Linked DNA regions of Homo sapiens: all the other regions are linked to region 3. The links are contacts of gene promoters, found by promoter capture Hi-C in blood cells and fetal thymus (Javierre and others, 2016). All regions are on one chromosome and are shown on one strand. The core of a region is centred on a gene start or on the middle of the fragment in contact, and the rest is flanking DNA. Distances in the headings are between cores, read along the strand shown. Region 1 overlaps R3HCC1L (R3H domain and coiled-coil containing 1 like). Region 2 overlaps TM9SF3 (transmembrane 9 superfamily member 3). Region 3 holds the start of MMS19 (MMS19 cytosolic iron-sulfur assembly component).

Evidence for each region. The method cuts DNA at HindIII sites, captures the fragments that hold promoters and counts their contacts. A CHiCAGO score of 5 or more calls a contact.
Region 1: a fragment that was not itself captured here is called in contact with the fragment with the promoter of MMS19 in region 3 in 1 of 17 cell types (naive CD4 T cells); the score reaches 5.1 in naive CD4 T cells.
Region 2: a contact is called between a fragment that was not itself captured here and the fragment with the promoter of MMS19 in region 3, in 1 of 17 cell types (neutrophils). The highest score is 6.5, in neutrophils.

What each region holds. Positions count from the first base shown.
Region 1 is chr10:98,137,335-98,140,034 of GRCh38, forward strand. The region is part of intron 1 of R3HCC1L (R3H domain and coiled-coil containing 1 like); the gene reads left to right. Among named protein-coding and RNA genes, the nearest start is that of R3HCC1L, 4.0 kb to the left of the region's middle. The HindIII fragment of the contact is 1,445 bases long and covers 598-2,042 here.
Region 2 is chr10:96,575,131-96,577,830 of GRCh38, forward strand. TM9SF3 (transmembrane 9 superfamily member 3) reads right to left here. Exons shown (of 15, transcript NM_020123.4): 2 at 1,504-1,699. Among named protein-coding and RNA genes, the nearest start is that of TM9SF3, 11 kb to the right of the region's middle. The HindIII fragment of the contact is 1,119 bases long and covers 710-1,828 here.
Region 3 is chr10:97,497,003-97,499,702 of GRCh38, forward strand. MMS19 (MMS19 cytosolic iron-sulfur assembly component) reads right to left here and starts at 1,420. Exons shown (of 31, transcript NM_022362.5): 1 at 1,271-1,420. The coding sequence starts at 1,382. UBTD1 (ubiquitin domain containing 1) reads left to right here and starts at 1,922. Exons shown (of 3, transcript NM_024954.5): 1 at 1,922-2,271. The coding sequence starts at 2,202. RefSeq lists enhancers at 545-1,075, 752-801, 1,162-1,331 and silencers at 1,572-2,331, 2,342-2,541. The HindIII fragment of the contact is 10,400 bases long and covers 1-2,700 here.

The DNA of each region.
Region 1 (2,700 bases), core at 70-2,569, 640 kb after region 3:
GGAGGTAAATGGCATTATGTCACAAGGTGTCTACAAAGATGAAATGAGATGTGACCATAAATGGCTTACTAGTGCTGGGTACAAATAAAGTTCTCATTATTTTGTTGCTGTTGTTATTGATGATTATGATAATAGTGATGATGATAATTTTAGGTATTTTCCTGAAATTCCATTTATCTGTAAAATGAGGATAGTCATCCTTAATTCACAAACTTTAAAAAATACTGTAAATAGAAGTTGTCAGATTGCAGTTTGTTTTTTAGCAATTGCATTTTATATAAAAATTATATTAGATTTTTTTTCAACTTTAGAGGTTCCTAAAATGCTGTTGTGCAAGGTTATTGGGCTTTGCTGTGTTTCTGTTTTTCTAGAGATTCCAAATGTTGCTTTGTACCTAGTTTGTTGAAATTGAACTGGTGCTTCATTTACAACCTGTAGTAAGAATGCAATTCTGTACATTGTAGCTTGTAGCAGAGCAATTATCTATCTTTATGACTCAGATATTGACTAGGATAGACGTTTATGGAACAGTTTTGTCTTCCTGCCTTATTTTTATTTTTATTTTTTTTAAGCCAGACTATTAGACTTTAAAATTTAAGCTTATTGGATAGGGTCTGGGAGACTTGGTGACCTTCATTTTTTCAAGATGGCATTTCTTAGTGACTGATGCTAATGATGGCATTGGTATGTATGTATCTGCAGGGAGTGAGAGTTGAGAAAAACCAAGGAGGAAAGCCTTATAGAGAAAAATGGTTTGTTGGTCAAGGCAAAGTCTTGGAGTTTAGAATTGAAGTATATATTTTTTACTTCCTTCAAGTGCCATGTTGACTACCAGATATCTGCAGATTCAGATGCTTAGGAAATGTTTCCTTTACTCTCTTTTTTGATGTGGTATGCCTGTGCTATGTTTTGCCAGCTTCTTTCTTACCTTTAGTTATGAATCAGCAAGATAACTATTTTTTCACACCAGACTTGTATACAAAGCTATGACAATAGAAAGTCACTTCCATTAAAATCTACTTTGTATGCTATAATGTGTTAATTTTTCCTTTATGTTTTAATCTTAAACACTTTTGGCTGGGCCTGGTAGCTCACTCTTGTACTTTCAGCATTTTGAGATCCTCTGAGGTAGGCTCATTTGAGGCCAAGAGTTCAAGACCAGCCTGGGCAACAAAGTGAGACTTCATCTTTATTAAAAAAAAAAAATCAATTAAACACTTTTGTTCCTTGACTGTTTTTTACTTAAAAGGAATTTTTGGAAGGTATGCTAATTCTCATCTATAGTGTGTGAGTATGTATAGTGGATGCTCAGTAATGAGTGTGCTGAATAGTTCTGAATAGGAACATTTTGTTGATTGTCCTAGGTCACTGAGGTGCACTCTGGAGAGGCCATGTAGCATTGTGGCAATAACCTATGCTTTGGAGTCAAGACAGACCAAGGTCTGAATCCAGGCTCACTAGATGTAACTTTGGTTCATATGATCATTCTGAATTCAGTTTCTCATCATCTGGAAGACAGATTAGACTAACCCTGCATGGTTGAGAAGATTAAAGATTATTCGAATGAGGCACATATTAGCCAGGTTTAGTATAATATTAAAGATTGGGGTGGTGTTGTTATTACTATTTTTAATTTTTATTTTTTTTCTGAAAGGTATGGATTTTGTTGATACATCTATATTCATTCCCCTAATGCTTCAATGATCAGTGTGTTTCTTAGCCAAGGTTAAGGTTGTTGACTGTGACCATGGAACCTAGAAACACACAGCAAAGCTAATTGGCCAGCATGGAGTTTGAGTCTGTGACCTTGTCCTCATTAGCTCCATAAGCTAACTATTCACAAATATCTCACCAGAATGAATGAAAAGACTGGTATATTTTTTATTTGGCCCTAATGCAACTCATTAGACATAAGTAAATGAACTAGTGCCAGAAGCAAAAGTATAGATTTTTCATTAGCTTATATAAATATATGATTAGCCGTCACACTATGTATAAAACTCGTGACCTGTAGGATGATCTTTGACAACCCCAGTAACCTAAGCTTATAATTTAGACATTTCTTTTAGTTGTTGAATTATATTTGTTGTAGACTTCTCACCTATAGGAGAAGTGAGAAGAAATGGAGCTAGGCTATTCATGCCTTGAAAGAGTACCCTCCTTCTGTTGTGCTACCCACGAGGAAATGTGCTCTTCGCTAGTGCAGAAAACATTTAGAATTATCCAGTAATGAGCCCAGCAGGATGGATGAAGCTTGGGGAACTCCTAAGAGCTTATTGAATTACAGAGAAATTCCAGTTGTCAAAGCATTAGATAGAGGAAAAGTTATAGGGTGTTACTTAGCAGCAGTAAGCCTGCATTTGGAGAGAATTTTCTTTTCTCTTAATAAAACATGGACCAATTGCTTCGAGTCTGTGGTGTCCATTTTTCACTGTCTCATGCTAGCCTTCTGTATAGTTTTTCATTCTTCAAATTCACCCTTCAGTTTTATTAATATTTGTTGTCCTTCTTGTATCTTTTTTTTTAATGCCAGATATAGCTGGATTGGGACTAGGGATAAAAACAGAAGCAGAGAAGCACTGTTGGAAAACAGATTCTAGTATCTAGTATCGTGAGGTTTCCAAATAACATGGGTCAAACTGAACATGAGGATACGGATTTCTGGGATAGGCAAATGGCTGACAGTTCATGACCATTTAA
Region 2 (2,700 bases), core at 19-2,518, 920 kb before region 3:
AAAAACTAATGAAATCTGTACACAGTAGCAAAGTAGGACTCAGGAGTTCTGCCTATTCTCTCTTGTTGGTTCCTCTTTAATAAACTAGAAATGCACACCAAATACGGAAAAAGAGAAAGCAGACGATTACATATAGTACCAAATCTCAAAGATCACATTTTCTAGTTTAAGTTTTCTTGTTATTTGTGACTAAATACTTAAATTACCTAATTAAATTAAAACACAAGCCTCAAAGGTATGTTTACAGTGATTCATAAAATTACAGGCCATGCCACTGTGGTTTAAATTTACAACTTAATTTTATAATTAAGCCCCAAAGACTATAAACGGGGGGATGGGGAGGGGGGAGAATGTAAATAGATACGGTATACCTATTTTCAACAATAACTGAGCAATTTTAAAAACAAGAATAAAATTTAACAAATCGAAATTAAAGTAACATTATCTTTAAAATCTCACTGACATTCTTCTCCTCAAAGTACTAAATAATAACATCTTTAGTACTAAAAATACCAGAAGTCAGTTACTATTCATCTTACACATGGAGACAATGAAGTCAAAACTGCAGTAAACAATTTTACTAAAATGAATACAGTACCAAAAAAAAAAAAAAGGAGGATTAAAATCCAAAGCTCCTGTTTACAGGATCCATGATGTATTCAAAAACCAAGACACCTAATCAAAGATCCTGCAAAAATTCAATTACTCAAGCTTCTGTTCACCATGCTAAAAATGCCTGTGCAGGAAATACACTCTCTGACAAACTTCACAGAGAAAAATGAAAAGTATAAACACACTCAAAGGACCTGATAAATGGATACCTGCATAATAACTAGATACGATGAAGTATTTTCCCCAAATTTAACAAGTCTTTGACTTAAAATTTAAATATCCTATAGGTATTAACAGGATAAATTAATACAACACTGATAAATAATACATGTTAAGCCTATGGTACAAGTTTGAATTTGAGGCGTCACACAAGAATTTTAAGTATCCACGCATCCCATTACAGCCTCAGACCTCCAGAAATTACTTTGTTAAATATCCATGAAGGTCTTCCCGGGCCACATGTGTCTAATCAATAGGGGGTTTACTAGACAACACTTTTCAGAAGGAAATATGTTAAGGAAATACAATTTTATTAACAATTATCTATTTTATTATCTTATAAATATTCAAAGGAAATCTTTGTTAATTACTAATATACTTTCCTAAATGCAATACACCTCATTTACAGACTAAAACACATTTTAGAGTCTAAAGTAGTGGTTCTCAACTGACAGCAATTAGCAATGTCTGGTGACTTTTTTGGTTTTCACAACTGGAAGGTGCTACTGGCATCTGGGGGGTACAGGCCAGGGACTCTGCTAGACATCCTAACATGTACATAACAGCTCCATACAACAAAGAATTATCCAACACCAGTGTCAATAGTGCCAAAATATGAAACCCTTGTCTACAATCCAAATTGCATTGTAAGGACTATTAAGGTTTACTTACCTTTAAATTTAATATCCAGACCACTAAATTCCAATTCAACCCCTTGAAGTGCTTCTCCCAGAGTTTCATGGTAATGACTGATACTTTTTTTTGACCCCACACAGAATGGAAGTGAAAAGTACTTATATGTTTCTTGACGATTATGGTAGGGCCCAACAGTATTCATCCATAAGACAACTTCCTCTTTATCTTGATACTGAAACAAGAAAAGCAAACAAGAATTAAAAAAAAAAAACACACTAATTCAAATTAAGGGAATATTTGTTGTGTGTTCTAAACAAAAGTGCATCATCTCTGTTCAGGAAGCTATAAAATAAATACTGGAAGCTTAATCTGATGATGAATGTCCACATCTTAAAAATGAAACTTTGTGAATTTTAAAATTATATCCTCTGATTGTAGTCTCAGGCAGATACACCTTTTCCAAACTTGTTTTATAGAAGACAGTGTTTGAACTAAGCCCAATAGCTCATAAGAGTGTGTCTATTATTTACATTTACACTATCAAATAGTGGCAAACCTGCAACCAGCATGATTCACCATGCTAACATGGACAAGGAAGGAGGAAACAAAATCAAGTTTATCCAGAACCTCATGTTAATCAATTAAAAAAAAAAAAAAACCTAATGTTGCCAGCAAGCATAAATAAAATTTCATCTCCTTGCGAGACTTTCACACAGCCACTGGTCAAAGTACTACAGAGGACAAGGAAGAAGACTGCTATAGAACCTCCACAAGTCCATTCAAGCCAACATTCTATCTTGTTAGCAGCCTGAAAGACATGCACTATATGCATATTTCTTTGAATAAGTAATTATGGAACTACATATCAGTGAATATTATACATGGCTAAATCTGAAGTGTGGTCAGTAATGACTTTGAGTAGTTCCAAGGTACAAGTGGGAGGCCTGTCAAAGATTTCTAAGATCTCGACAAGTTTAAAGTTCCAATGATTCTATGGAAACTGATTACCATGGTAATTTTAAAACTAATAATTCTAAGTAGCAGTATAAATTAAAGACAACATTGGATGCATTTAAATCAACTAATAGTGCAGACATTAATTCACTGAACAATTATTTACTAAGTGCTTAGCATGTGAAACAACTGTGTTTATAACTGAGGATACAGCTTTGAACAAGATGTGTTCCCTGTCCTACTGGGGGAAGGATGGGCATTAAACAAGCAATAATAATA
Region 3 (2,700 bases), core at 170-2,669:
AGGGAAAATGACATTGGTAAGACACTGTACTTGTAAATTGTAAACACTGATAACACACTACATTTCATAAAATTGTAAGATGTTAAGTTTGGTGGCAGCACCAGGTATTTGCTCCTTGATGCTTCCAAACTACGCTGCACACACCTCTTACAGAATGGTTGCCTCTCCCAGCATACTATAAGTTCCTGGTGGGCACAGATCTAACCTAATTTGTATTTATATTCCTATTGCTTTGCATCATGTTTGGGGAATAATATGTATTCAACAATAGTGGCATGATTGAATTAAAGTGGAATACTGCTAACGAACAAAGTATTATATTTCTAGCAGATTCACTATTCTTTTCTTACATATTCTAAAGGTTAATACGCTCAATATCCAAGAGAAATGTGTCCTTACTTCTCTCCAAGCATACGAAATTTCCAAAGTTTTTTTAAAAAAACTACTCATTAGATAATTTTATATTGTTACTTAAACCCAAGATCTGAAGGCCTCCTAACATTCAATAACTTTTTAGTAGTTTTTTTTTTTTCCTAGAAGAGCAAAGTCTCAGAACTCCACGGAAGCCTGGAAATCGTTTTATTCTAATTTTAGATAAGCTGTCTGAACTAAGAGATCTCTGAACTGGTCAAAAGCAGGAAAGTGGGGGTCTGGGAAGAAGACAAAAACAAACGCCACATAAAACGTCATGGAGCAAACTAATCAAGAACTTTAGCAAGAAACGGAGAGAAAGTCTTAAGGAGGACACCCAGAACATCTCCAGCTCCTCCTGGCCCGTCTCCTCAACTCCTCTTAATTCCAGCCAGTCAGAGCGCGGGGCCATCTGCCACTCCCAGGATGCCACGCGACGGGAGCGGACGCTGCGAGGATGCACCTCCACACGTCAACCTCCCACAAACAGCATGGCTTCGTGGCGTGAGCACCCGGTTCGGACCTGAACGCCTGGGTCCGAGTCCCACCTCCCCCTCCTGCCTGGTCTGCAGCCCTGCGCAAGTCCTCTTGCCCTCGCTGAGCCTCAGTTTCCTCATCTGTAAAATGTAATGATTCCCTATAATTGGCTACAGGGAGATGAGAAGTGTAAATGGTTTTAAGGAAGACACAGGCAACTCTCTAACTTGTTACGGCTCTGAACCTCGCGGTGCTCACTAACCAGCCTTGAGACCAATCTCTCAAAGTCACCCCGCTCCTCCCTTCCCGCCCGGCGCCTGTACTGAGGCCGCTCCCTCCTGTTGGCCCCCATGCGGAAGGCGCGCGGCGCCGTCTGCCGTACCTGCAGCCACCTGGTCAGCGGGGCCCTCTTGCTGACCCACGACGAAGTCGTGCACGAGGCCCCATAGGGCACCCATAGGCGCCGCCGCCTCCACAGCCGCGGCAGCGGCCATAACGCGAACTAGAGACCGTGGGAGGGGATATGGGCGGTGGCTCGAGACGGGCTCTCCGCGCATGCGCCTCCCGAGCCAATCTCCGGGGAAGCGCAAGGGGGCGGGGCGCCGGGGTCACGTGCCTGCCGGCTTCTGCCTAGGCAGTTCCAGGGAGGGGCGGGGCCTGAAATGGGGCGGTGGCACCGAGAGGGAAGGCGGCTGCTGGGCACGCAGCCGGAGGCGATTGAGGGCGAATAATTCCCAGCCCGGCTCCCCGGGAGACGGGCTGCGGGGCGGGCACCTGGCTGGGTGGGGAGAGGGGCGGTACGCACCACGGGGGAAGCCAATGAGAAAATCAGGCCCAGCCCTAGGGGGCGGTGCTGTCGGTCACATGCGCACCTGGGGCGGGTGGTGGCGGCGGCGCGGGCACCGCGAGCCGGCGGAAGGGAGAGGGGCCGGCCTGGGGCGGGGTTAGGCAGGTGAGTGACAGGCTCCAGGGGGCCGGCCCCTGCCTGGTGCCCCGAGCGAGCCGGGAGTAGCTGCGGCGGTGCCCGCCCCCTCTCTCCGCCCCTCCAGCGGAGCTGGTCTCCGGCCGGGCACCGTCGCGGGCCCCCCTGGCCCGGCCACCTGGGACCGTGCTGGGGAGTCTGCCACTTCCCTCTCTCCCCTGGCCCGCAAAGTTTTGGCGGAGCCATCGCTGGGGCTGAGCGCGCCCCCGGGGGGAGATCGGGGAGCGCCCGATGCCGGGCGGCCGGAGCCATTGACCCGGGACGCCGCCGTCCGCTGAGCAGCCGACCACCCCGCCGCCTCCGGTGCATGGGGACTGGCTGAGGAGCCAGCATGGGCAACTGCGTGGGGAGACAGCGCCGGGAGAGGCCGGCAGCCCCGGGACACCCCCGCAAGCGAGCAGGTAACGATGGGGAAGGGAGCAGGGCCTCGGGCATCCCGCCAGTTGTCCCCCTCCTCGCCCGAGTCCTGGGCTTACCGATGGACTCCCCACTGGTGCTGGCGCTTGGGTTTCCCCGATGGGCTGCTCCGCAGCCAGAGGGGGCCGCTCCCCAGCGCCGGGCGGCCGGGGGAGCTGAGTTGGGGCAACTGCGAGCACTGAGCCGGCTGCGCGACCAACTCTCTCCAACTGGGTAGCTCCTGGTGGGGGTGGGGGCAGGAAATGTTTGCAGACCGCAGCGGGGCCGACGGATCGGGAGGAGGCCGGGGGCGAGGGCGCCGCTGGCCTGGCAGCTCCGGCCGGGGTCGGACGCCGGCCCGTCGGGGCACGGCGCGGGCAGCCAGGCGTCCCCAGAACTCGGAGCGAGCGAGGCGAGAACAGTCGCTCCTTCCA